6 separate regions of the Homo sapiens genome follow, and all the other regions are linked to region 5. The links are contacts of gene promoters, found by promoter capture Hi-C in blood cells and fetal thymus (Javierre and others, 2016). All regions are on one chromosome and are shown on one strand. Each heading gives the region's core, a stretch centred on a gene start or on the middle of the fragment in contact. The rest is flanking DNA. Distances are from core to core; before and after follow the strand shown.

Region 1 (4,655 bases), core at 1,001-3,500, 400 kb before region 5:
CTCTTTTCCCCATTATTTTATTTAAGAAATACTTTATGGAAGGCTACTTTGAAAGTATACATAGGCCAGGCACAGTGGCTCACGCCTGTAATCCCAGCACTTTGGGAGGCTGAGGCAGGTGGATCACCTGAGGTCAGGAGCTCAAGACCAGCCTGGCCAACATGGTGAAAGCCCATCTCTACTAAAAATACAAAAATTAGCCAGGTGTGGTGGCGGAAACCTGTAATCCCAGCTACTCGGGAGGCTGAGGCACAGGAATCGCTTGAACCCGGGAGGCAGAGTTTGCAGTGAGCCAAGATCATGCCATTGCATTCCAGCCTGGGCGACAGAGTGAAGCTCCATCTCAAAAATAAATAAATAAATTAGAAAAAAAGTATATACATATACAATTCCTCATTAAACTTCTGTTTACTTACTCATTCATTTCTATTAGCAGAGTCATAGTTTTCTATTTTGTTCAATGGATTACAAATCATTACTATGCTGATGCTCAGGTTGTCTCAGATTTACCCCATGTAAATCCCTTACAGCTGGCTTATGTATCCTTTTTTAAGGCCTTCCTTGCTTTCTGGTTTATCTTGTACTTTTTTTTGCTCTGCCATGGAATCAGTCATCTCTCCAACGAGTCCTGGCTTCTTTCGGTGGAGAATGTAGTGCCTAGACCTCGAGGTCAGGTATGTGCACTGGGGGAAGAGGGGAACTGCTGCTCCAAGGCTTGCTTAGTAGAGAGAGCTAGGGAGTGTTTGTACACACACACACACGTACATTGACATCTGTATTTCTTTAACTAGGTTGATATTTATGACTTCACACTATCATCTCCTATTCAAACCCAACAGCAGAGTTCATTCTAGTGTTTTCCCTTTCCAATGTGTAACACCTTCCTCCAAAATGAGACAGCTGGCTTCCGCTACCCTTAATATTTTCACGTACAGTGATCAAATCCCTTATCCCTAACTAATCTGCCATTGCCATTCATCCCCTGCATAGATGCATTCCCCACGCCACTTGGGATCTGACTCCTTGTACCAAGCTACATCCCCAGTTCCCACAAGGATACCACCCACACTCACAGGCTGCAAATCCACATGAATCCCTAGCTTGCTCTGTCTTACCTAATGGCCAAATTGTGGGTAAAGGAAAAAGGGAAGGAATTTGGATCTTGTTGGAATTTTACGTAAACACCACAAAGGAAGAGATCATCTGATTTAAACTGATGTATCCCCAGTATCTAAAACAGACTTTGGCATATATGAGGTAATAGTTAGGTCCTTTTTGCCCTTCTACCTTCTGCTATATGAGGATGCATAAGAGGTACCATCTTGGAAGCAGGCAGCAGCCCTCTTCAGACACCAAATCTGCCAACGACTTGACCTTGGACTTCCCAGCCTCCAACTGTGAGAATATCAATTTCTGTTCTTTATAAATTACTCAGTCTCAGGATTTTGCTGGAGCAGCAGAAACTGACCAAGATAAATACTTTCTTACATCAGAAGACACTGGCCAGTAATCCCAGCACTTTGGGAGGCAGAGGCAGGAGGATCACTTGAGCCCAGGAGTTTGAGATCAGCCTAGATTTCATGGCGAAACCCCATCTCTACCAAAAATACAAACAATTAGCTGACACTGTGGTCCCAGCTACTTGGGAGGTTGAGGTGGGAGGATCACTTGAGCCCGGAAGGCAGAAGTTGCAGTGAGCTGAGATCAAGCCACTGCACTCCAACCTGGGTGACAGTGAGACCTTGTCTCAAAAAAATAAAGAGAAAAAAAAAAAAAAAAGACACTGAGACCACTTCAGAAATGGATACAGGTGTGGGAGGAGGCTGAAGCTTACATAACTTTGGGGGCATTCTTCAGAAATTAGGTCTTAGAAGGACTATGCAAATGAGGAACCCTGAGGCTTAAGCAGCAAGTCTGCTTCCTGAAGGAAGTTAGGAGTGAAAGTACCCAGGCCCGGTGCTTGGCACAGAGCAGGCATACAAAACTTCAGGTATTACTTTGAAGAATCCTGTATCCAGCCTCTATATATTAGGCCCTCAACAAATCTCTATTAAATGCTACTGACCTATAACTTGTCACACCCTAGAAAACAGGTTCTAATGAAGTTTTGCTGTTTAACAAAGAATGACACATACGGACTGCCAATAAGGTCTTATCATTTTAATCGATTTTAATGATTATTGCTCATCTGCAAGGATTAATATTGCATTCATTAAAAATCATTCAATACAAAATGAACTTGTTCTTCCCAAGTTGCTCTCCACATGCTCCCTCTGATGCCAGACTTTTTTTTTTTTTTAACAGTGTCCTTTGTTACATGGCTTGACAGAGACAGAGCCCTTACCTATTATTCCTATGGACACGGTAATAGATATGGGATCAAGGGGCAGGTCAGAGGGCAGGTGAATGTGGGTCCCTTCCCTCCAGCAGGGCTAACGTGATGGATACACTGTTGGCCAGGTTACCTCCCCTAACAGATGTGGTGTTCTGATTGGTTGGTTAAGTGCCCGAGGAAAATAGGCCTTAACTGTTAACATCTACAGAGAAGAAAGCATGGTCACACTGGCAAGGAGTAAGAAGGGATTGGGTAAAAGAAAATGGGAGAGAAAAGGGAAAAAAGTTTTGGCAAGACAATTGTTCCCTGCTAAGAAGCTGCAGGGTGAAAGCTTTCCTTTCTTCTATTTTTGTTTTTAATGTCTGTCTCTCTGATCAGTGGAAAAGTGAAAATTTCTAGTATCTAGCACTAACGTATGACCCAACTTTGAGGGATCACAAGCTAGAACAAGTTGAGGATTTAAAATCCTGGATAATTATATACTTAAAGCTCATGAGCATAAAGCTCACTTGACCATGCAGAAATGCTGGGAAGCAGGGTGCATGGCATGGGAATACATCTCCCTGATCTTTGAGAGAGCCTCTCTGGATATTCTTTCAGAGCATGAGCCAGGATGTACTGACTACTTTCTTCACACATCAGTTGCCCTTTATGATCTCAGTTCATAAACTCTTTGTGGTATGTAGCAATCAAAAGTCATATTACTTCTGTAAAACTAACATTATATAGGGTGTATAGTCCCAGACAAATTATATGAAGCTAGATTTTTCTTGCCCTGGCCCAATTTATCATTCCTCCTCCTGCCCACACCTACCTCCCTTTAAATATTTTAGGTTGCAGAAGCACAGCTGACCAGAAATTTGCTCTTAAAGATAAATCCTAAAGATAGAACTCAGTGCTTTATACTGAGTAATGGCTCAAGAAATTCGCCTTCAGCACAAGCTGTATGGTACACAGCTGATAGAATTTGCTGTTGTGGCTCCAGTTCACTGATGCTATGAACTACGGGCTAGAAACAGAGGGACTTAACAGGGCTTGAGACTAGCATTTCTCTAGACTCAGCATCCTTAGCTCCAAAGGTTCAAAAGAGAAATTGGTAACAACTAACCACTCAAGCAATTCCTCAGCATTAACACCAAAAATTCTCCTTAATTTTTCTTTTCTTTTTTTTTTTTTTTGGACAACAGAAATAAATCCTAGAGGACAAAATTAAACTCAATAGAGTGTAGTCTAGTTAAAAACTCGAAAAATGAGCAAGTCTGGTGGGAGTGGAGGAAGGGCTATACTATAAATCCAAGTGGGCCTCCTGATCTTAACAAGCCATGCTCATTATACACATCTCTGAACTGGACATACCACCTTTACGCAGGAAACAGGGCTTGGAACTTCTAAGGGAAATTAACATGCACCACCCACATCTAACCTACCTGCCGGGTAGGTACCATCCCTGCTTCTCTGAAGAAGTGAAAGAGCACTGATTTCAGCAGCTAAGAAATGGGCTCTTTTAAGGCGATTTAGACATTGCAGATTGTTCCACAGAGAAGGTACCTTAGCATTTCCTGTTAATAAGGTACCTAATTAAGACTAAAGTCCCCAGAAATGGTAAAGAAAGAATCACCTTTCTGGGCTGGGAGAGTAAAATCCTTCTTTAGTGACTAGAGTGAGGAACCCTGAACTTCTATTTCATCTAAAGAGCCATGAAGCAAGTTCCTGTGTGGTCTGCAGAACTTGGATAATGAGATGAAAAAACAAGAATGAAATTATAGGAAAAAAATCAAGAGGAAAGGAGTAAGAAGAAAATAAAAGTTATCTTAAAAAATATTTCTTTAGAGTGTGTGGTTCAGGTGGACTGGTCCTTGGTAGTATGGTCCATTAGTATCTGTAAAGAGAGAGAGTGATTGGTTAACACTTATGTCTTCCATATGAGAATTCCAAAAAACAATCGGAAACAGAGCACCTTCTCCAGGGCCCCTCCCCAGCCTGGGTGGGATCCCTGCAGTCATTCCCCAGGGCACCAGTCTCCCTTATTCTTCCACAGGGTCTCTGACAATGCCATTTCTGGTGTTACCGCCTGTTCCCAGGAATGAGTCAGTGTTTTTTCAACCCTGACTAAACATTACAATAATCTGGGGAGGTTTTACAAAATAATGTTTTGTAAATTTGGTCCCATCGCAGACCAAATATATCAGAATCTCTTAGGGTGAGGCCCAGGCTCCAAAATTTCAAAAAAACCCTAACTCCCTGATATCTCCCACAATTTCTCTATCTACCTTGTTAACTGGAACAGTTTTTTTGTTTGTTTGTTTGTTTTTAAGACAGA
Region 2 (4,787 bases), core at 331-2,830, 360 kb before region 5:
TTGAGTGCCGAAGAAGTGCCAGCAGCAGGGCTAGATGTCAGTCGGGACTACAGAGATAAATAAGCTGAGGTGCTGATCTCTACGTGGGGACAGGTGATGGGGGTGGGGTGCAGTGGAGGGCAAAGGGATGACACAGAGGGAGATGCTGCCAGAGCTGAGTCTTGACAGATAAGCAGCTGGGCAAGGGAGGGAAGATTCTCCAGGCTGAAGAAACAGCCTGAGAATAGGCATGGTGATGGAAACAGCTTGGCATATTACGGGAACTGTAAATATCCCCATGTGGGTGGGGCACAGGGTGCAAAGCAGGGTGAAGTGAGCGCTGAAGCCAGGGCCAGATCCTGCAGGGCGTGTTAAGCCCTGGGTGGGTGGTGGTGATGTCTGCCATGCTGGGGAGCACAGGAGGAGAAGCAAGTGTGGCTAGAGGGGTGGAGGGGGGCTGCTGAGAGGAGTCAGCTTGGGACATGTTGAGTTTGATATGTCTGTGGAGGGCACTGTCCCTGAGTCTCAGGGGAGCCCAGGTTGGCACCTTTTGGAACTGCCCGCTCCCTGCCAGTCAGGCTCCCCACCAGGGGGAGGCTGTGCTCCTCCTGAAGGCCTTTCACCTCCTGTCGGCCAGGTGTTATGTTAGCCCTCTGGAATGAAAGTGCAGAAAAACTGCAGAGATCTTGGGTGACAATGGAAGTTCGGAAGAAGGTGAAGAGGGCAGTGGCTCTGTCTCTAGCTCTCCAGCATGGGCAAACCCTCCAGCTCCAGGCTTCTTTCTGTCCCAGAACTGCTACCTTGCACAGCTCTAGGAGGCACCACTGACATTGTAATTATTGTGAAAGGTGCCCTGGAGCACCACTTCAGATTGGTCACCTACCTCGCTGGCCCTTAGGGACCCCCAGAGGGTGGGCTCCCGGTTGCACCTCTGTGGCTGTGGGTGCTGGTCCTCAGGCTTCCTGGCTCCTACTTCCCACCGAGCTCCCTCCCTCCCTACCCTCAGCCTTTTCTCCTTCCCCTTCTCCAGTTCCAGTGGGAAAACATTCCTCCTTCTCTGTCTCCCCCTCTGCTTATTATTGTCATATTTATTAGGATCACTTACTCTTTATTATCATTTTGAACATTATAGGAAAGAAAAATCCATGAAGATTTTTTAAAAATTTCTTTTCATCTTGTTAAGTTCACTCCTAGTTCTTAGCAATTTGCAGAAACTCATTTTTACATACCTGTGATTGGTAGGTTCATGTCCTTTTGTATTCTGCTTTGATCAAATTACAATATTTCAAAAACACATGACCCGAACGGAGAGCATTGACATACTTGTTATTATTGTCCATGTTTTCCAAGCTTTCTGTCATATTGCTTTATGAGTTTGCTTAACTGTTTTCCTATTGTTCGGTATTTGAATTGTTTCCAACTAGTGCAATATAATGGAATGGAGGGAGGTGGTTTCGGAGTGGGTGTGGGGATGGCTTTCAAGCAAAACAGGCGAAGATGGGTCACAGCACCAGCTCCTGCCAGAGAAAGGGAGCAAAAATGTAAGTAGTGGGGGCAGTTATAATGACTGTAAACAAGGACCAGGATAAGGAGGCACCTTTTGGCCCTAGAGGATCTGAGGTCCTGTGTCTGGAACTCGTGATAGCTGACTCATGGCGAGGCTGCATGGTGTGAGGAAGCAGGAAAACTGGGCAGAGATGTGGGCTCAAATCTTCACTCTGCTACTAACTTGGCCACTGGCATCCTGGACCTTTTTTGACCTCCTCTTCCTCATGCAAGACAGGTTGATAGCTCTCCATCTGGGGCTTGTAATGACCTAATCCAGTAAGATCATAAATATGCAAAAGCTTTGAACAAGTTGCAAATATTGTGCAAATGTAAGGTACTAAGATGTGGGTCCAGGCTAACCATGGAGGGCAAAGGAGCTATTGTTGAGAATTTGGAATTCTCTCTTCGCTCCGCTTCCCGGAATGACAGGAATAAGCAGAAACCCGTCTGCTGCAGGAAAGGATTGTCATTGCTGGTTTTGAGTACTTGTTGACATGTGGATGTGTTTCCTCAAAAGGGAGGGCTGACACTGCCCCAGCCATGAGAAATTGCTGCTTTCCTGGCCCAACCTGGCCCCGGGGTCTGGCTGTGTGACCAGCAGCCCCTTGGAACTTCCTCACATGCTTTTTTTCTAGGTTGGACCAGAGATCCTGATGTATCTTACTTCAGTTCCCAAAGCTGCCACACATTAAAGTTCATACTGAGAAGGCATCCACCAATTGTAAACAATGTTCAAGAAATCTGTTCTGATGACTGTTTGTGCTACTTTGTATGTTTTTTCCTGCTCTTAAGTGTGTATATGGGAGCGGGGAGGATGGAGGTGGGGATGGTGAAGAGTTTACCAAAAAAGTAGAAATTGTGAAACTGGCCTTGGACTTTGGCCTCTGCCCAGTCAGTTATTTACTGAGCATCAGCTTTGTCTCGGGAGCTGTGCTGAGCGCCAGGGATCCCACAGTAAACAAGACAGACACAGTTCCTGTCCTCATGGGGCTTAGAGTCCATAGCAGAGCTTTGTCAGAAAATCAAGGTTCCCAGTACTGTCTGAGAGGGCACACCCTCTCCTTGCTGTCTCCATGTGCCCCACCCTGAGCGGTCTTCCAGAGTGTGTGGCATGCTTCCTCTCCCTGCTTCTGAGGCTGTGTCTAGCCCCATGCTAGGGAAGGAAGAGCAGTCTCTCTCCCGAGTTCAGAGATGCTGACCCACCCTTGAAGTAGCCCCAAGTCTTTTAGAAGCTTCTGGGATACTGCTTCCCTGGCAGATGTGCTCCCCCAGGGCAATGGTGAGTGGGCTGGTGAGATGTAAGTGTCAGCTTCTGGGATAAGGGAGGACACTGCCTGTCTTTGCCTCTCCCAGGCCTGCCTCTCTACCCATAACCTGCAACCTGCCTCTAGGACTGGAAATAGTCCTGGAATCGCAGAGACACAGGTGGCCAGGATGGTTTGATATCCTGGTGGGTACTCCTTCAGGATGCCTGCTGGGGGCTAGTAGAGGATTTGTCTTGACTGGAAAGGCTCTGGGGCTGATGGAGTGGAACAGACAGAAGCTGCCATCTCCCAAAGCTCAGGTGCTCAGGGTCTTGCCCCTTTGCCCTGAAGGGCCCGGCCTGTGGCTGGTTTGCTGGAGCCAGAGGAGAGTGGTCGGCTGCTGGTGGTGCGGAGGCTGCTGCGGGGTGGGAGCCTGCCTTCCTCACCCTCTCTGGTGTGCAGGGCGGGCCCCATTGCATCACCCTTGGAGTCTCTGCTCCTGGCTTTGCAGCCAGCTGGGCCCCTGGAGGAGGGACTCTCCCTGTTTTTCAACAAACCATTAACCATTTCACCCTCTCAAGCCCTCCCTGCAACCAACCTGGATTCCCAAGGCTGCTCCTCATGCCTCTCAACCCTGGTCTTGAAAACCTCCCTTCTCCTCCACGATTCCAGGAGCTCTGCCTGGACAGCCTTTTAAGGGTTGAAGGCTCCACATGCACAACGCAAGCCTGGCCTCTTCCCCGGGGAAAGAGTTAAGCCTTGTCCTCCACACCCTCAGCATTTGTCCCATTCTGCAGCAGTGAGGACAGAGCTCTTCAGCCTCCAACATGAGCTCATGCCACTTCCACACTTCCACAGAGTCCTGACGGAGGGTCAACACAATATTTTAGACCAACGGCAACGATGGATCTCATGCCAGAACCAGGAGCTTGGACCTTGGCCTCTCCACAAAGGCCCTTCAGCCATTTCCTGCAGACCCGCTTGGCCCTTTGACCTCTTTATAGGGGTTCAGGGAAGGAGTGGGTGATGTGAGGGCCTGGAAGGGCTCAAGAGACTGATGGAAGAGAGTCGCAAGTACACAGTGTTTCCCTGTTTCTGTTCGGGCTAGATGAGGAGACATCAAGGGGTGGGGATGGAGAGGCTGTTCCAGTCAGTGAAGCCCAAGCCTCATTCCCGCTCGGGTCTTTTATCTCCCAACCCCAACATTCCCTTCATCGCCCCACCCATTCCAGGGCCTGAAATAGCCCGAAACTTCATCCAAGCCTAGGCCCAGGTCCCAATTTTAGTTCCACAAACATTTGGCTGCTCCATAGCTTGCAGGATCCTGAGCTGGGTCCCGTGGCGGATGCAGAGATGAATGAGGCCCAGCCCTTGCCTTCAGGGAGCTTGCAAAATGTGTCCAGATGACTGCAGTCAGAGGCGGAAGATGCCCGTGGAAGAAGAAAGAAAGACGCTCCCCGTAGAGGGAATGGGGCAGGCTTGTGAAGGAGAGTTGGTTTTGTTGAATCTTAAAGGATGACTAGGATTTCAAGAGGCGGACATGAGGAACACTGACTTTAGATGGAGGGAACAGCAAGAGCAAGAATATGGAGGTGTGAAATGTAGGGTATGCTCTGGAACATGGCCAGCAATCTGGTTTGACTGGAGCACATGGGAGAATGTGGAGCTGCTTGCGGTTTCTGTGGATGTGTGAGTCTGTCTAGATTCCCTACAGGCTGAGGGCTCCCAAGTGCCAATGACCCACAGATTCCCAGAGCTTTACAGAGCAGCCTATTTGTTAATCCTCTATTTAGGAACAGAAAGGTGAGAAACTTGCTCAGACTCTAAAGCACATTCGTGACACAGCGAGGACTGGACCCAGGTTCTCCCACCCTTATCTGTTTTGGCTCAGTTCAGGTCCCTTAATCCAGGAGGCTTCGTCCGTGGAGTTGGCTGACTCAACAGACTCTGCCATCCCTTAGGGGTCCAAGGAGAAGTATGAAATGAACAACCAGTGATCATGGATGAACACATGAA
Region 3 (4,512 bases), core at 91-2,590, 340 kb before region 5:
ATGTCGTCTACTATTTCCATTACAGGCCTTAATATATTAATCATAGTTGTTTTAAAATCCTGGTCTGATAATTCCAACATCCCTGCTATACCTGAGCTTGGTTATAATGCTTGCTCTGTCTTTTTAAACTATGTTTTTTGACTTTCAGTATGTCTTACACTTTTTTTTGTTGCACACCAGATACAATGTACTGGGTAAAAGGAACTCTGGCAAACAGTCCTTAGTGGTGTGGAGTTAAGACGTAGGGAGAGGATAAGCATTCTATATAATGAGGTCTCAGTTTTTTAGTAAGCCTGTGCCCCTGGGCTGTAAACTTCACAGTGCTTCTCAATATCCACCTCAACTTGCAATGTGGGACACGATGGCTGCAGTGGGCTGGAGTTGGGTATTTCTCTTCCCCCCAGTTGGTTTTAGGCGCTGATAAAACCCCATTAGGTTAGGCTCTGGTAAAATCGTTTCCCTTGAAGGCAGACCTTGTCCAGAAGAACAGAATGCTCTGGCATATTTCAAAATGGTTACTTTTCCCTAGAAGTATAAAGGGATTTTTCTCTAGTACTCTCTGTGAGAACCTGGTAGAGCTCATGGAGCTAAACCTCACAAAAAACTTGTGAGGCCTCCCTCTGACTGGGACCCCCTGGAGTTTTTATTTCTCAGACTTGTCCACAATGGAGCCTCTAGCAATTTATCAATTACAGTTTAAGTTGTTCTACCCTAATACTGGTTCCCACAGAAGTTTCTGCTCATGGGTTTCTGCCTTGGTTAAGTTGTAATTCTCTGTATCTGTCTCTCTAATTTTAGAGGCAGTGATTTGTCCCGTGACCTCACTTCTCTGAAGGATCTAAGAAGAGCTGTTGATTTTTCAGTTGTTCTTAAAATTTTTTAAATAAAAGAATGAGGAGTTATAAATGAGGAACAGAGTATAAGGAATAATAAAATTTTTCCAAATGTTAGCAAGTTATCTCCACATGGTTATCATCAACGCATCAAATTCAATATATTCAGAATCCCTTTAATTGACTTTGCCTCTTAGGTTCTGGATTTTCAGTCTGGTGCCACCTTTCTGTTGGTCATTCATGTTTGAAACTTTGGGTCATCTTTGACCATTCTCTCTATCTAAAGATTTCTCAATTACCATGTCATGTGTGCTATGCAATTGTAACTTAGTTGTACATCCGTTTTCCTGTCTTTTTCCCCCTGCCCTCCCCTAGTCCATCACCACTTGTCAGGACTTTTGAAATTGCTTCCTAATACTTCCCTGTCTTAAGAGTCAACTTTGGTGGCAGATCAACCTGAGATTAAATCCTAGCTCTGCCACGTATAGCTCTTTGATCTTTGGTATAAAATACTTAACCTCTTTGAACCTTGGGCAGTGCTATAGTTTCAGTATTGGTCCCCTCCAAAACTCGTGTTGAAATTTAACCCCCACTGTGGCAGTATTGAGAGGTAGGGCCTTTAAGAGGTGATTGGATCTTGAAGGCAGAACTGTCAGGTGTGTGGTGGGGCCTGCAAGTAGTTGCCTGCAGCTCCTCTGCCCTCTTCATTTCACCTACTTTTTTTTTTTTTCGGTGGGGTCTTACTCTGTCGCCCAGGCTGGAGTGCAGTGGCGTGATCTTGGCTCACTGCAACCTCCACCTCTGGGTTCAAGCGATTCTCCTGTCTCAGCCTCCCGAGTGGCTGGGATTACAGGAGGCTGCCACTATGCCTAGCTGATTTTTGTATTTTTAGTAGAGATGGGGTTTCATCATGTTGGCCAGGCTGGTCTCAAACTCCTGACCTCCGGTGATCCACCTGCCTTGGCCTCCCAAAGTGCTGGGATTACAGGTGTGAGCCACCGTGCCTGGCCATTTCACCGACTTTGTGAACTTTTCTTCTCCATTTCCCCCCATCTGTTTGCCAGAGGGGTGGGACTGGAAACAGAACAGCTGTGGCTGCTTTGTCTCTCCCCTCCGTGGTGACTTATGGCCTGAGTGGTGACTTACAGGAACCTGGCCACCTAGGTGCTATGCGCCCTCTTAACCTTTGAACTGGAACTGCTGGCTCACACAAGGTTTTGAACAGCTGCAGCAAAAATCCTACAGAAAAGCTGGATTCCTTTGCCTTATGTGGAAACAGCAAGGCCCTGCCAGGTGCTCACCACTGGTCCTGGCAGAAGTGGCTGCTGCTGAGAGTGACCTTCCAAATCCTTGGTGGAACTCAGCACTACAGGCTCTTAAATAAAAACCCTTTAGACACAGAAAAAAGAAAAAAAAAAAACAAAAAAAACTCTCAAACATTTGATGTGAACAGTGCCCTCATTTGTGTATTAATTCATTCATGGATTAATGGATTAAATGGTTAATTAATTAGTTAATTAGCTTGCTCAGCCTCTCACCATGGGGTGCCCCGAACTACCTGGGGACTCCCTACCAGCAAGAAGACTCGCCAGATGCAGCCCCTCAGCCTGGGACTTCTTAGCCTCCATCACTGTAAGAAATAAACTTCTTTAGAAGTTAGTCAGTTTCAGGTATTCTGTTATAAGCAATAGCAAACAGACCAATATAGACATCACCTATAAAACTGAGGTAATAATACTCAATTTACAGGATGATTGTGAGGGTTGGAATACATTATGGGCCAGACACTGAGTCTTAAATGCATTAATTATTACTTTCATTAAATGAGAAAATGTATGCAAAGAGTTTGGCATGGTGCTGGGTACATAGTAACTACTCAATCATTGCTGGCTGCTTTATATTGTTATTCTTCAACCCAGTCCAATTTAGGAACTGCTGGCATATTAACTTGCCTAATAAGCATTTTTTATTATGTTTATCACTTGCTCAAAATCTTCTTTGGCTCCCTTTTGCCTGTTTCAGTAAGTCCAAACTCCTTGCCACGCATTCAAAGCTCTACTTATCAGTTCCCTCCTACCTTTCAGATTTTATCACCTGAATTTGACTATTCAGTGTATCCCATACATACTCCTGGTTTTCCCTCCTTTTTAGCTTTGTTCAAACTCTTCTCTCTCCCCAGAATGCCCTTCTCCTCCCATTTTGCTCAGTAAATATTTGCTGAGTAAATAGATGGTGTCCTTTGGAAAAGCTCTCTAAGGGAAGCCAGTTCTTATTCATGCTATATGTCCCCCCTGTGGTGGGAACACACAGGGCAGATTATGTTTATTACCAGCAGGACTTTTCGTAGGGGAGGCATATATGCAAACTGAGAGGTTTTAAAGAAGTCACCCCTGCTCTACAACCCCTCCACCCCTCCCGACTACAGATGCTACATAATACTCACGCCAAGAGGTGATATTGCTAAATTCCTCTTGTTTAATTAGCCTCTCAATTCAGGGCATACTTATCGGATACCTACAAAGCGCTCTGCAACTTGCCTGAAACTGTGTGGGTCAGAGTACATTTAAGACCATCCAGCTGGAAGTGAGAAGACTTGAAAAACATTGGCAAACAATGCATGTGAATTCAGAGTTGGTTTCTAAATTTTGTAATGCTGAAGACAAGTCTTTGACTAGGATGAGCCTGTGCACTAGAGCAAAGGTCAAAAGAGGTTACAGCCAGTCGAAACTTTGAAAGGGCCCTTCCTGGAGTGCATCTCCTTGTCCCGCATGCTTTAAGAATGTATGGTATGCTAAAACAAACATCTGATGTAGGCTGGTGAAATGCAAACCAGTATTCTGTATTCATGTGATAAGCCAGGCCCAGGGCAGTCTCCTAAAAGGCAGCTTTCTTAAAATCACGGGTAACTTTCTGCTTCTAAACATATGGGTGCAGGGAGAGATTTTTTTCCCCCAAGGACCAGCTCCCACACCCAATGTAGTTCACTGGTTCAGCACAAGCTCAGTTGTTTAAGATGCTAAGACATCTTTAACAACAGGAGCAGTAAGCACAGGGAGATGACAAACAGACATTTCTGAGTTTACTCAGTGCCTTAGCCCAGCTTAACTCACTGTCTAGGCTCTTGGCAGGTCTCTAACCTGGATTTTATTTCCAGAATATTCTCAGCTCCCAGATTATTCAGAATAAGATAATAAAAGTTAAAATTGGAGCACATGCTTTGAAATCAAATGAGTTTGGGTTTGAACCCAGCTCAACCACTTACTAGCTCTGTGACCTTGAAACTCAAAAATGTTTTCTGAGGTTTGGTTTCCTCCTTTTGACAATTGGGGTGATACCACTGACGTTAGGATTTATTGTGAGGATTAATGAAATGATGTGTTTGGAGTGTAGGCTCAGTATTTGATGGTTAGTATCACCATGACAATGACTAGAGGTCCCCCTCACTCCGTTCCACACCCAAACTATCTCCTCCAAAGCTACCCAAATTCTAATTTTTTTTTTTTTTTTTGACAGAGTCTCCTGTTGCCTAGGCTGGTGTGCAGTGGCACCATCTCGGCTCACTGCAACCTTTGCCTCCCAGGTACAAGCGATTCTCCTGCCTTAGCCTCCCGAGTAGCTGGGACTACCACCACGCCCTGCTAATTTTTTTTGTATTTTTAGTAGAGACGGAGTCTCACCA
Region 4 (4,881 bases), core at 1,409-3,908, 420 kb before region 5:
TCAGAGAATTTTAATGTTTCTTATAATTTTGCTGGATCAGTAACCTGGAAATACATGTTAACTAGTTTATTCATAAAATTAAAGGGATATATCAAACTTAAAAACATGCTTTATTCAGATAGTATGAACAAGTTTGTCAACAGACTTTCTTAAATATTAAAACTTTTAAACAATTAAAGCTATAGGCTACTGATTTTTCATATAGCTCACTTTTCCTATCCCAAACAATCAGCATACCTTGCATTTTCTGATGATCTGTTTTGCATTCCCTTCACAGATCACTGAAAACTGAGGCTTTACCTGGATCAAGAAAGCGACTTCTATATCCTCTCACATGTTCATCTATTTCTTAAGCTGCTGCCTATCAAACAGACACCATTTATATATCTCCAGGTACCGTCCCATCCATCGATTTACCCACATATATCTCAAACATTTTCATTATGGCTCTAAAGAAACTCTTCCTTAATCTATCATTTTTGTTAAAAACCATACACAACCCCAGGATGGGTGGAGACATGTTTGCTTAAATGCTTTTGTTTTTATTTGTTTCCTATCCCCCTTCACTAGCACATCTAACCAAGAGCTAACTCCAATTACTGCCTCAGTAGCCACATGAGGGCCATGTTGTGTGAGACCAGCAAGGCCGGCCTCCCTGAGACCCTCAGGACAGCACAGGGTGCTTTAAGAGAGCCTCATCCCAGAGCCACGGTCAGCCTGCCCTGCAGAGGACCACACATGGTGACACAGGCCAGGTGGCAGGCCTGAGGGTGTGAGGGCTCTGCCTCAGGAACTATGAGTGCTCTGGAGGTCTGAGACTCACCTGACCTTGGGAGCCCACGGGAGCCCTTTGGGGCAAGTCAGCCTGTCAGTCTGTGGGTGCTGTAGCGGGGGAGGCATCACTTCATCCCGTTCCAGGGGAAACGTCTCCCCCTCCAGACTGTTGTCATCATCATTCTCCTCTTCCTCTTCTCGAGAGTCATCAGCCTTGTAGGGATCCCGCTCGTTGAAGGCATCTAGGTTGTCCTGCTTTATCAGAGCCTGAAACCAGGGAAGGGAGATGAGACAAGAGCCAACTGAGGACGCAGACCAGGGAAGTGCAGCCAGAGGAGACACAGCACATACAGGTGTCCAGTAGAGGCAAGAACAGTGGAAAAACCACAGTGGGAGTCAAGACGGGGGCCAAACCATCAACTACTTCTTGCTCCAGTCCCTCAAAAGCACCACGTGCTGAGCACTCACCATACACTGGACCAGAGCTGGGGACAAAGTATCCTCGCTGTGGAGGCATGATTCTGACTGGCTGATCAGAGATCATTTCCAGCAGCCCTGCTCCTCCAAGGACTGTGCTGCTGCAAGCATGCACCTTGAGGGCCCTCAGGAGTCACAGGGACCTCTGTCGTCCTCACCTTGTGCTCTCGGCGGCCCCGTTTCTGCTGCTGCTCAATCAAGTCTGAAGCAGATGCTGGTGGAGAGGCTGCTCTCATGTTGCGAATCACTTTGATGCTGTCCTCAGGAAGCGGGGGGAGGCCCAGGATGCTGCGCTTCTCAGCCTTCATGCTCTGCAGCTCCTCAAAGCCGCCTAGCGTGCACTGCATCACAGACAGGGAAGCAGAGCCAGGGTCAATGTGTCCACAGGCTGGCCCCTGACCATTGTGTCAGGCTCAGAAACATTCATGACATCATGACCCATGTCTTTATAGAGACCCAGGCAACTCCTGAACAATGGACTGAAGCCACTCCCAAGGAGAATTCCGTGACATCCGCAAGGGAAAGGAGAAAAAGGAACAAGGAAAGAGTGGAGATGCAGGCTGACTGACCCTAGTGCAGATACACTAACTCTGCACCTATGACATACTCTTCAATTTAAAAAGAAGCAAAGAGCCTAACCCTGCAAGTTCCTAGAAAAGTTGGTGAGACTCATGTTTCACAAGTTGTACATGCAAGTCTTTCAAAGTCAAATTAGAAATACTGTTGGTTGCTCAACTTTAGAAGAAGAAAAAAAGCTTCATCTAAACATCTCCCAAGAAGCAGAAACGCCAGCAACATCCAGCTTTAGACTGCTTAGTTTTACTGTTTCTGAGCAATTCAGCTTTCCTCTCTAGCCTTAGCAAGGCTTTATGAAGAACAGAATGTGTGGCCAAGATAAAATGTGTCAATGACTTTTAAGAAATCCTATACTTACTGAGCCCTGGCTCCAGAGTTGACCCATTCTGAAAGGAAGGATGAGCCCCAGTGTAGCAGAGGCCCAACTCACCTCCACCGCCTCCCCATGTCACTCCTCCTGGGAAGGCCTCCTGGCATGGCCTGGCTGCTAACAACGCTCCAAGCCCAGTGTGCTGGACGGCCCACTCTGGCACCCAGTCCCTCCCTACCTAGACACAGAGTCGGGCTGACACCATACCCTGAAGAAAATGGAGGCTGGCTCAGGGCTCACTCTTGCCCCTTTAAGTGATATCCAACCAGGGCCCCAATTACATCAGCTGTAACTTTGCCTCAAATCCCTTTACAAACTCCAGGTCCAGAGCTGCTTGCTGAGAGGCAACTTGTCTGGGGGAGAGCTGTTCTATGACAGAAAACAGCTTCCGGGGTCAGAGAGCCAACAGCCTACTCTGACTCAAGGCCTATGTCCTCGTTGGCTGCAATGGGACAATAGTGGCCCTTCTTTTGTCATCTCCTTTTAGCAGCTTTTTAAATAATTTTTTTTACCAAAGCAGTTTTACAGTCACATAATTCAATATTCAAAAGGATATTCAAGGAACAGTCTCCCTACTGCCCATCCCATAGCACCGTTCTCCTCCTCCAAGGAGGTGCTCACCAATACTGTCTTCCAGAGCAGCAAGAGAACTTTCTTCATGGGAAAGTGAGGGGCGTGACCACTGCAAAATTTGGTCACCATCCCAAACAGCATGATGGCAAATGGCTCATTGTTGTACAGCGGGGAGCCTGGAGGTGACACAAAGGTATCAGGACCCTCCCAAAGCCTTCCGCCTCAGCTTCCAGGCAGGGCCTCTAGAGAGGATCCCCAGGGTCCTACCCAGCTCGGCTCTGAAGGTCTGCCGCATGGTCCTCCACTCAGCCTTGTCACCCTCACACTCCTGATGAACGGTCTCCACTATCAGGTACATGATGTTGAGCAGGACCCTGAGGACAAGAGCCAGCTCACAATGGAGTGGGATGGGGGGGTCAAAGGAGCACCCTAGTGTCTAACAAAGTGCTTACACAAAGCAGGGGCTTACTATTAATAAATGGTATCTGAATAAATGAGTATGAACAAGAATGGCCAAAAGCATTTACCACCCTAAGCTTCCTGAAAAGAAAAAAACCACAGAGGTGGTAGCGAGCTGTAGGGTCAAAGCAGAACAGGGTCACAGTGAGAACAAAAACAGGGTTTATGATGAGGAAATGGAAAGCAGGAGCTGAGAGGTGACGCCCAGGGATCCTAACACCCGGGAGGCAACACTACAACCACCTAGTCTAAAAACTTCCAAATTCATAAAAAGAGCCAGATTTCAACCCTCAAAAACTGAGGGGTGATCTTGGTGGTCAGCAGTTGCTGTGAGCTCCTGGGCAGCCATGAAACATTAGGAAGCTGTCAGGTCTAACCCAATGAAGATGAGCATCAAGCTGTGTACACAAGAAGGTGGGAGTCCAGGGAACACCATCAAGTGTTTCATCCAAATACAAAATACCCCACGACCAGGTCCTGAGTAACAGTGTGAGTAGGAGGCCACACTTAGCTGTGGCTCTAGTAAGTCACTTGACCCTGGATTGCCTTTGGGAGTCTCAACCCAGAGTCCCACCTAGGACGAGCCCTCAGCAGTTCCTACTAATCATTCACACTGAGCCCATCACACATGCAGATGATGTGTACAGAAGCACACACAGCAATGACACCCACAGACAGCCTCCCACACCCTGCTCTGATCTCATCTCTGACTAACGCTCAGGAGCCCAGGCTTGCTGCTCGCCTCACCTGAGGTCTGTGCTGTCAGCCAGGGAGATGGCAGGCTTCCTCACAGCACTGCTGCAGGCGGCACTGTTGCTGCAGGAGATTTTGAGAGTCAGCATCTTCCTCCAAGAAGGAAGATAAGTGATGTCCCTGACAAGTACTGACCAATGGGGAAACAAAATGCTGTGATACGTGCTTGGACTGCACAAGAGGCCACAGGACACGGTGGTTAAGAAACCAGACCATGGCTGGGCATGGTGGCTCATGCCTGTAATCCCAGTACTTCGGGAGGCCGAGGCGGGTGGATCACCTGAGGTCAAGAGTTTGAGACCAGCCTGGCCAACATGGCGAAACCCCATCTCTACTAAAAATACAAAAATTAGCTGGGTGTGGTGGCAGGCACCTGTAAACCCAGCTACTCAGAAGGCTGAGGCAGGAGAATAGCTTGAAGCCGGGAGGTGGAGGTTGCAATGAGCCAAGTTCACGCCATATCACTCCAGCCTGGGCAACAGAACAAGACTCTCTCTCAAAAACAAAAACAAAAACAAAAAAAACACAAAAACAAAAACAAAAAACCCAGCCATGCACTGGACTGCCACGGTTTGAATCCTGGCTCTAACTGCGCCTTAGTTTCCTCATCTGTAAAATGGGGATGACAGTAGTACCTATATCCTTAACATGAATTAGCACATGTAATATTCTGAGAACAATGCCCGGGACACACAGGCACTCAATGAGCTGTCTTAGCTTTATCATTGATGGTGTTATCCTTAGATGAGCAGCAGCTGACCTGTCCACTGGACAAAGGTGACACAGGCAAGGCCAGGCACTGGTTGAGCCCATATGTCAGTCTTGTGCCTGGCCTCCTGCCAAGGCGGAAACTGCAGGGCGAACACAGCAGTGTCTGCAGGTTCAAAAGAGAGCTCAAA
Region 5 (4,455 bases), core at 1,591-4,090:
ATCTCCCCTCTCGACCAGGAGCCCCTCACACACTGCCACGACTGCCTCAGTAGGCACAGGGGTGTCCACGGCTTTGACCCCACAAGTATCAGATGCTCTTACCATCTGACCACCGAAGGGTCTCCAGCTCTGGGCTAGATCCGTATCAGTTGCCCTATTGCTGAACCAAACAGGGCCAGGAAGGGCCCCACCCAGGGGACACCCTTTCTGGATGGCACAGACCTGGGCACAGAGAACACCCTCAGGACAGTAGAGACCTTGCACCAGTCATCTTCAATGAAACAAAAAAATATAGGAGGTTGATACTTGGGCTATAGCTACAGACAGCTGCAAGGGTGGGGGCAGTCGGCATGATCTGGTCATCAAAGTCAGGGTGGGTCTTTCCTTAGCCACAAGGCCTGGGAGCAGACAGCAGGCAGATATCCCTCTGCAAGCACAGAGCCAGGCAGCCAAGCCCTCACTGAGACAGGCACTGCCGCACCTCACTGCCTGCTCCAAATGATGCAGAGATGCTTACTAGAGTGAGAGACGAACCAAAGGGTGCAGAAGCACACACAGTGCGGGCAGCAGCCCCAGCCTGAACCCTGCACGGACCTGACCAAGGACACCCCATACTCCTAAGGAGGCTCACAATATAGACCAGGAATGAGCAAATAGCAAACGATAGATACAGTCAAGCCCCCAGTTGTGGGATGCCAGCCAGCAATGGTTGTGCCCAGATGTCAGACCCCCAGTGAGGGGGATCTAGATGTGGGGTCCTAAAAAGTGGAACTAGCCACAGAACAGCCTAAGCCTGCCTGGTAAAGGCACAGGCGCCAGTCAGAGTGGCCAGTCCACAAAACAGTCAGTCCCACACACCCCCGCTCCATTCACACATGCTTCACACGCAGTCTTAGCACATGCACACGCTGACACGTGTGCATACACACCTCTTGCTGCACCCACACCATGCCCACTCCTTGTGACAGAGGACAGCATCCCTGGCACAGATATCTCAGATCCACCCCCCGCCCCCCACCACCCCTCACCCCACCTTCCAAGCCGGCTGTCCCTGGGACTGAGGTTGAGGGGCACCACCACAGAGAGGATGCCGGAGGAGGTGGCCCCCTCTGAGGGGACCAGCACCTTGGGCGAGAGGTGGCAAGACAGAGCCCAGCATCTATCCTGAGGCCAGGAAGCACACACTCACCTGGAGCTGCAGTGGAGGCCTGCAGGCTGGCCCGCTTCTTAAAGGGATATTTGGCCTTGGGCTTGCCAGAGCCAGATGGATAGGATGCCATGGCTGGGACCACGGCGGCGACAGCGGGGGAGTCTGAGCGGCACCGGCTGGGGCCTGGCTCTGCCACATCCAACCCCTTCCTCCGCCCCGCCCCCAGCGGGAGTGACTGATGCAGGAAGCAGCGGCTCCGCAGGCGGAAGAGGCCCTGGCCACGATTTCTCATGTTGTCTAGGCAACCTCGGGGAGTGGGGCCTCCATCTCTGCCCCTTATCCCTCCCCTGCCTCCTCAGTCCCAGGAGTGACGTGACTGATGGTGGCTGGGCCTGGCGGGGGGCGGGGAGGGGGTGGGTAGAAAAGAAGATGGGGAAGGGCCAGCCCCCAGCTCTCCACTAACCCACCAAGAGCCCTCACCCCATCATGCCAGGGCTCCCGGGCAAAGAAGCCAAAGTCCAGGCTAGCTGGTCCTTCCAGCTAGCCTGGAAGAAAAAAGAATAACAAACAGGAATTCAGCAGCGAGCGAGTCCAAGCTCAAACACAGTCCTCCCGGGGCAGGGCAGGCATACTCCGTGAAAACCCAGCACCCACTTTCCTTCCACATCTGACCCTCAGCTCCCGGGGTAGCCCAGCTCTGGGAGGAGGGGGAAGAACCGAGAATCCCAGCCCAGGAGGGAGGGGCCTGTCCCGGGAAAATTCCACCGTCGCCAAATAGCTACCTCCCAGGAAGGCAGGAAGGCCAGGAGACCCCCTTGTCTGGGGGTCTGGGACAGAGACCCTAGCCTCTTTGGATTTTTCCTCTGTCTCTGCACACTCTGGCTCTGCTCCCCAGGCCCTCCTGGGAGGAGCTGACCGCCTTCCCTAGGTCCTGCTGCTGTGCTGTGACTCCCACCCTCTTGTCACTCTGGCCACAGCACTTCTCTGTCCCAGAGACCCTCCCTCCAACACACGTACACACACTCACCTGAGGCCATGATGCCCGAGTTCCGAGGGGAGGCTGCCCACGAGAAGTCTGTACAGCAGAAAGCCCGGGTCCTGAGGGACGGCAGGGGGATCGGGCCACAGACCCCAGCCAAGTCACTCCAAGGGCCCCTGCCCTGGCACTGAGATGGGGAAAGTAAGGCAGTCTTTCAAAATTGCCAGCTGGCCGGAGGTGGACTCCCGCAGACCTCGGCAGCCGGACTGGCCTCAAGGCGACCCCGGTGTCGCGACCACCCAACCCTGCAATCGAGAGGCTGGTAGGCCACGTGCTCCCAAGGGAGCGGGACCCGAAACTCGTCCAGATTTCTCTCAACACTCCCTGGGCATTCAGGGTCGGACTCCCGCGGCCGGACTGTGGGGGAGTCACGCAACAGGTGAGACCCCACCAAAATCTCGCCGGCTCCGCGCCAGGCTCTGCGGCCCTTGGCCCCGCCCCCGCCTGGCCCCGCCTCCGCCTGCCGACCCCGCCTCGCCATTTTTTTCTCTTCCTGGGCGCCACGTGGGCAGCCACCACACCGCGGTAGGGCTGGCCTGAGCCGACCCTGGGTCTTGGGCCAGTTCCGTGCGTCAGCTTCCTCATCAGTAAGATGGGGTAATGACAGTACCTCACTCAAAGGGGTTACTGTGAAGATTAAACGTAAAGTCCCTTTACACAGTGCCTGGCACGAAGTGAGGGCCCAGTGAAAGGTAGCTGTTATCATTGTCCCAGGATTCATTTTAAGCAGAAGTCCTGCCCCTGCAATCTCACTTGGTCGTCTGTTTTCTTCCGGCCGGCGTAGGTAGGAGGCTGTGCCCTGCAATTCTGGCTCCCCTTCCCACATTTCTGTATTTGGTGGTTAAGAGCTTTAACTCTAGCCAGAATGTCTGGGTTCAAATCCAGATTTCACCTACTTCCTGACTGATACTGGGCAAGTTACCTAACTTCTCTGTGCTTCTATTTCGTCTGTAAAATGAGTGTAAGAGTACCTGCTTTATATGGTGGTTAAGATAAATGAGTTAATATAAGTTAACTGCTTAGAACTGTGCCTGGCCTGTAGTTAGTACTCAGTATTCATGTATTACCATTGCTTTAGCCTTGGCCTTGGTTCTCTATTGACACTCACAGGTTGATTCACTTGCAGCCGTTCTGGGGTCTATCCAACAAGCATCCCCACTGCCAAGGGGTAGATAATCCGACCTAAAGGGAACTTGTGGAGGGAAGTCCCTAAGACTTCACTGAATATAATTAAATGCATTAGCAGGAATTAATCTCTTCCCTATTTTCCCTCTTGTGGGAGGCCTTTGCCCCCCACACCCAGTTGTTCTAATGCTGTTTGTCTGGCTCCTCCCAGTTCTTACCACTCCCACAGCAGAGATCCTTCCCAAACTCTGCCTCCCTCTTCTCTCCCCACGCTGGATTCTGGACCCTGAACCCTTTTCTCCACCTGCATCTGGTGCCACTTCCATTGATCCCTGGCTACTGTTCCCTGAACAAACTTAAAAAAAACTTGGCCTCTTCACCTCACACAGAATCCATAAAACTAAAAAGAGAACAGAGATAACCAGGTTTACCTAATCAAAATAGCAAAGACTAAAAAACAAAAAACCAAAAAATAAACGCTAATGCAGGTTGGCAAGGGTATAGTTAGTGAGATGGGAGACACACACACACGTACATGTGCACAAACACATTACTGGTGGCCTTGAACACTGATATAATCTTTCTGAAAGCCATCTGGTAATATAGAATCAAAATTTTCAAAAAGGTTCTTATTATTTGACCCAGTAATCAACTTTCTGGAAGTTGTTTTTCTAAAAAGAGCTGCCAGAAAAATATGTATGCAAAAAGTTGTTCAGCACCACAATGTGTATTGCATAGAAAAGTTAGATACTTTAAAGGTCGAACAATAGGGGAATGTTTATGTAATATTCATACCATGAAATACAGCCATTAAAAATTGTTCTTGGAGAAATGTTTAATGATGTGGAAATGTTTACAATATAAAGTTAGGTAAAAGAATGGATGCAAAACACTATACACAGTATGGTCCTACTTATGTGATATACATGGGTAGAAAAGAAACACACCAACAAGTTTACCAATGATTATCTGTAGTGATGGAATTATGGGTTATATTTATTTTCTTTATATTTATTTGCATTTTAGAAATTATAATACATACCCATAACTTTTATAATCAAGGGGATAGAAATCAACAAAAATCTGTAAAAATCTGTAATTGCCTCCACAGTCCCCCCAACCCAGCCTTCCCGGGGTCTTA
Region 6 (4,768 bases), core at 170-2,669, 280 kb before region 5:
GTCAGAGAAATGGATATTTTGCCTTTGAGGTCCAAGATGTGGGTTTGGCAGAAGGAACAGAGCTCAGGAGACTAAGTGCTGCAGAGGGAGAAATTTGGGTAATCAGTGGTGGATCCGGTGAAGAGCGAAGGCGGGACCAGGAAACAGTCATTGTCTCATTCAACAAACAAGACAAATGCTCACGGATCACCACATGGGGACCAGGGACAATTAGGAACCAGATTGCCATGGTTCCCACCCCCAGGAGCTCAAGGTCTCCTGCCATCCCTGCTTGCCCCTCCCATGTCTTCTTGTTGGAATCTCCTTGTACTCATCTTTAGGGCCCGTCTGAAATGTCCCCTCCTCGGGAAACATTCCCCCTTACTCTCAACAGGAATGCTTCCTCTCTCCTCTGGCCCCATGGTTCTTGGTCTCTGTGTCTCTCTTGTGTTTATGTACATTTCTTACCCTTCTTCTTACTGAACTATGAGAGTAGAGATAGCTTTTATCTCCCATGGAACCCATATATACTAGGTGCTCAATAAAGCTTTGTTGAATGGATGAATGCATGAGTGAATGAATGGATTTTACGAATCCAGATCATTCTCTCTGCTGGAAGTAACCTTTTCCCTCCCCTATTTCTAAGCTAAGCTCCACCCTTTCATCCCACTGTGGCCTGTCCCAGTGCTGACTGCTGTGTCACATGCTTGTCATGGGCCCTCTGCACTTGGGTGAGGTCATGGGTTCTGGCAGGATGCCATAGCTGCAGGTCAGAACTCACTCTGTCAATTTAACCCAGGTACTAGCAGAACTCGGGGTGCTTGTCTAGGCTCTCCAAAGGCTGCAGAGACCTGCATGCATACAGGATGCTGGGGCACCTGTCAGGCCTTCCTCGCTCTTGGTCTGACCTTGCTCTGCTCTAGCCCTCATGTGGCATAGCAGTCCTACCAGTGGGCATTGTCCTCCCTGCTGTGGCCTCACCTAGTGCTGACAGTGGCTCCACACACCCACAGAGTAAATGCTAGCACCCTTGACTGATGCCAGGGCCTTCTTCGTGTTGGTCCCCACCTTCTGCTTCCATCTTGTTTTCCATTATGCACCCCTACACCTGACAAAAATTCAATAGCCATGCCCTGGATAAATCTTTATTGAATGTTTTCTGTGTGCCTGGCTTAAGGTTACGTGCTGGGATTTCCAAAGTAGAAGACAGTCTACTGTCAGTGAGCTCACAGTCCAGTGGGCTGTAGGGGTGGGGCTGGAAGCAGGCAGTGACAGCACCCCATAGTTAGTGCTATCGGGGAGGAAGCCCAGGTTGCTCTGGGAGCCTTAAGGAGAAAGTCCAGGGTCAGGCTCAGTTTTCAGGGATGATGACAGGTGAGCCAAGACAAGGACAGAAGGGAGGGGCAGGGAAGGGGATCCCAGGCAGAGGGAGCAGCAAAGGCAAAGTGGGGAGGGGAGTCTGGCTTGGTGTGGTGAGTGTGAGTGGCAGAGGGTTGGAGGGGAAGAAGTCTGGCAAGGCTGGCAGAGGCAAAGCCACAGAAGGTGTCACTATGCCTCCATCCCCACCTGTGGAAATAAACCCCCTCAAGGCCCTCTCGGCTGCTCTCTTCACCAACGAGAGTTCTGTTTCCCTGACCCACATGGTCTCATCTTCCTCAGAATCTCAGTGGCACTTTACATCCCTCTCCTAACCCTTTTCCCTGTGCCAGCTTATTTGCAGCTTCCGTCTGTGCCTGCCCTACACACCTGTACCTGCCTAGAGTAGGGACATGGAGTTTCAATACCCTGCACAAATACTGAGTGAGGATCTAGGTCTTGGTACCGGAGCACAGTGGAGAGTGAGACAGGCGAATTGAAATACCTCAGTCCCCACCCAAATGACCCTGTCCCTCTTTCAGGCTCCCCAGTGAATCATCTGGAGATTGCTCCATAAGCAAGGAATCTATTCAAGAGGAGGACCATCATGTCATGCCCCTTATTGTGTGACTTTTGGCAAACTGTAGAACCTCTCTGATGGGGATAGAAGTAACTCCTCCCTCAGGGCCTTGTCATGAGCAAATGTGATGGCAAATGTGAAGTCTTGGTAAACTTTAGAGCAGCCTCCAAAGTCCAGAAGATTAGGAGTAGGGAAGCCTTTCCACTGCTCCTCACCAGCATACACTTTCCAGGACATGCCTCCACGGCGGAGCGTCTCAGACCAGGCCTCTGCACCAGGATGGGGCTGACCTGTTCAGCGCTCACTACACCTTCCAGCAGCTTGTCCCATCCTCCCATCCTCCTCGACACCTGCCCCCTTTTTTTTTTTTCATTTCTTATAAGTAAGAAGAAGCTTCTAGCACTTCTAGGCGGCCTCATGAGTAAAGCTGTGATTTTCAAGGCTGCAATTTTTCTTCTGATTCTAGAGGATTTACTTCTTGTCGTGTGTGTGTGTGTGTGTGTGTGTGTGTGTGTGTGTGTGTTTTAACCTCTGAGTTGGACTGCATCCAAATTTCAACATCAGAAGAATGGGAAGTTCTTGAACATGTTTAAACTGTGAAGCCCATAGAAGCCAGATCATTCTTTTGTGGAACTACAAAAAAAAAATTTCTTTTTTTTGAGATGGAGTTTCGCATGCAGTGGCACGATCTCAGCTCACTGCAACCTCCGCCTCTTGGGTTCAAGCAATTCTCCTGCCTCAGCCTCCTGAATTGCTGGGACTACAGGCTTTAGCCACCACGCCCAGCTAATTTTTGTACCTTTAGTAGAGATGGGGTTTCACAATGTTGGCCAGGCTGGTCTTGAACTCCTGACCTCAGGTGATCCACCTGCCTCGGACTCCCAAAGCGCTGGGTTTACAGGCATGAGCCACCTCACCCGTCATCTTTTTAAATAACAGTGTATTCAACCTTAAATTAACCTAAATTGTGTTAAATCAGAGACTACTGGATCCTTGTTCTTGCTATGGTTTTAACACATCCCCCAAAAGTTCATGTGTTGGAAACTTAATCCCCAATATGACCATGCTGGGAGGTGGGGCCTACTAAAAAGTGATTGGGCCATGATGGGAAGTCCTCATGGATGGATTAATGTTATCATGAAAGTGTGCTGTTATCCATTGAGTCTGGCCCCTGATGCTTCTCTCTCTGTGTCTCACATGCTTGCTTGCCCTTCTACTCTGTTATAACGCAGCAAGAAGGCCCTCACCAGATGCCATGCAGATGCTGGGGCCATGCCCTTGGACTTCCCTGCTTCCAGAACTGGGGAAATAAATTTATTTTCTTTATAAATTACCCAGTCTCGAGTATTCTGTTATAGCAGCAGAAAACAGACTAAGACAATTCTCATGTAGACAACTCATAGCAGGGGTCAAAGTTTAAGGAAAATGTTGAGACCTCAAGTCCTAAGTGGGGAATATTCTACACTCAATCTTCAGATTGGGAAGGTTGGGGGTGTTTATGTATGTTTATGGGTAGGACTCCGGCTCTAGGAAACAGAATTTGAGAGCTCTGGGTCCCAGAATCAGGCCAAGCCTCAAAAACAATAGCCCTGGGTCATCAGGGCTCTGCTGGACTTCCAGCTCTCCTTCCTGCTGTGCTGCTCCCATGATGACGTTGGCCAGCCTATCCCTCCCACCCCACCCACCACCTCCTGATCATTCTTAGAAAGGGAATGAAGCAGGTAACATTCTTAGAAAGGGAATGATTAGTAACATGGGCTGGAGCAAGACTGCCTGGATTCAACTCCAGCCTCTGTACTTACTAGCTATGCAACCTTGGACAAGCCTTCTGTGCCTCTGTGCTTCAGTTGCCTTATCTGTAAAATGGAGATAGTAACAGCACTGACCTTAATTGTACTGATGAGGATTAACTGAGTTACTACAGGGGTCTACAGATCTTTTCTGTAAAGGGCCAGATAGTAAATATTTTTAGAATCTGCCATTATTCATCCCATGTCTGACAAAAATCGGATAGCCATCCACGGGATAAATCTTTTTTTTTTTTAAGACAAAGTCTTGATCTCTTGCTCTGTCACCCAGGCTGGAGCATAGTGGCACGATCTTGGCTCACTGCAACCTCCGCCTCCCAGGTTCAAGTGATTCTCCCACCTCAGCCTCCCAGGTAGCTGGGACTACAGGCGCCCACCATCATGCCCGGCTAATTTTTGTATTTTTAGTAGAGATGGGGTTTCACCATTTTGGCCAGGCTGGTCTTGAACTCCTGACCTCAAGTGATCCACCCAACTCGACCTCCCAAAATGCTGGGATTACAGGTGTGAGCCACTGTGCCCGGCTGATAAATCTTTACTTAATATTTACTATGTGCCTGGCTCAAGGTTAAGTGCTGGGATTTCCAAAGTAGAAGATAGTCTACTGTCAATGAGCTCACAGTCCAGCAGAGCTGGAAGGGGTGAGTGAGCCTGGTAAGCAGCCAGTGATGGCATCCCATAGTTAGTGCTGCGGAGAAAGAAGCCCAGGTTGCTCTGGGAGCCTCCAAGAGAAGGTCCAGGATCAGGTGCAGCTTTCAGGCCGATGACAGGTGAGCCAAGGAAAAGAGAGAAGGGTGGGGCAGGGAAGGGGGTCCCAGGCAGAGGGAGCAGCAAAAGCAAAGTGGAGAGGGGAGACTGGCTCGGTGTGGTAAGTGTGAGTGGCAGAGTGTTGGAGGGGTAAGGAAAAGCTTCTAGCACTTCTAGGAGGCCTCAGGCTCTGTCACAACTACTCCACTCTGCCATTGTATCATGAAAGCGGCCATAGACAATATGTACATGATAGGCATGTGTTCCAATAAAATGTATTTATAAAAACAAGCAGGGA

What was found. The method cuts DNA at HindIII sites, captures the fragments that hold promoters and counts their contacts. A CHiCAGO score of 5 or more calls a contact.
Region 1: a fragment that was not itself captured here is called in contact with the fragment with the promoter of GNAT2 in region 5 in 13 of 17 cell types (naive CD8 T cells, M0 macrophages, naive CD4 T cells and 10 more); the score reaches 9.1 in naive CD8 T cells.
Region 2: a contact is called between a fragment that was not itself captured here and the fragment with the promoter of GNAT2 in region 5, in 9 of 17 cell types (fetal thymus, erythroblasts, megakaryocytes and 6 more). The highest score is 8.1, in fetal thymus.
Region 3: a contact is called between a fragment that was not itself captured here and the fragment with the promoter of GNAT2 in region 5, in 2 of 17 cell types (erythroblasts and M1 macrophages). The highest score is 5.9, in erythroblasts.
Region 4: a fragment that was not itself captured here is called in contact with the fragment with the promoter of GNAT2 in region 5 in 3 of 17 cell types (M0 macrophages, naive B cells and activated CD4 T cells); the score reaches 6.7 in M0 macrophages.
Region 6: a fragment that was not itself captured here is called in contact with the fragment with the promoter of GNAT2 in region 5 in 1 of 17 cell types (M0 macrophages); the score reaches 5.0 in M0 macrophages.

Annotation. Positions count from the first base shown.
Region 1 is chr1:110,021,233-110,025,887 of GRCh38, reverse strand. AHCYL1 (adenosylhomocysteinase like 1) reads right to left here. Exons shown (of 17, transcript NM_006621.7): 17 at 2,146-4,214. The coding sequence ends at 4,208. Among named protein-coding and RNA genes, the nearest start is that of STRIP1, 11 kb to the left of the region's middle. The HindIII fragment of the contact is 837 bases long and covers 1,832-2,668 here.
Region 2 is chr1:109,976,628-109,981,414 of GRCh38, reverse strand. No RefSeq gene overlaps it. Among named protein-coding and RNA genes, the nearest start is that of AHCYL1, 5.7 kb to the left of the region's middle. The HindIII fragment of the contact is 497 bases long and covers 1,332-1,828 here.
Region 3 is chr1:109,959,175-109,963,686 of GRCh38, reverse strand. No RefSeq gene overlaps it. Among named protein-coding and RNA genes, the nearest start is that of AHCYL1, 23 kb to the left of the region's middle. RefSeq lists enhancers at 2,727-3,296, 3,297-3,868. The HindIII fragment of the contact is 7,765 bases long and covers 1-4,512 here.
Region 4 is chr1:110,039,799-110,044,679 of GRCh38, reverse strand. STRIP1 (striatin interacting protein 1) reads right to left here. Exons shown (of 21, transcript NM_033088.4): 6 at 3,977-4,045; 7 at 3,038-3,144; 8 at 2,819-2,946; 9 at 1,410-1,592; 10 at 824-1,041. Among named protein-coding and RNA genes, the nearest start is that of STRIP1, 7.6 kb to the right of the region's middle. The HindIII fragment of the contact is 1,300 bases long and covers 2,009-3,308 here.
Region 5 is chr1:109,618,001-109,622,455 of GRCh38, reverse strand. It overlaps GNAT2 (G protein subunit alpha transducin 2), which reads left to right and starts at 2,840. Exons shown (of 9, transcript NM_001377295.2): 1 at 2,840-2,973. AMPD2 (adenosine monophosphate deaminase 2) reads right to left here and starts at 2,619. Exons shown (of 19, transcript NM_001368809.2): 1 at 2,178-2,619; 2 at 1,190-1,542. The coding sequence starts at 1,280. RefSeq lists enhancers at 1,334-1,862, 1,822-1,871, 2,393-2,921, 2,892-2,941, 2,922-3,452 and 2 more and a silencer at 2,512-2,701. The HindIII fragment of the contact is 17,616 bases long and covers 1-4,455 here.
Region 6 is chr1:109,897,827-109,902,594 of GRCh38, reverse strand. All of the region lies in intron 4 of LINC01768 (long intergenic non-protein coding RNA 1768), which reads right to left. Among named protein-coding and RNA genes, the nearest start is that of CSF1, 11 kb to the left of the region's middle. The HindIII fragment of the contact is 1,782 bases long and covers 529-2,310 here.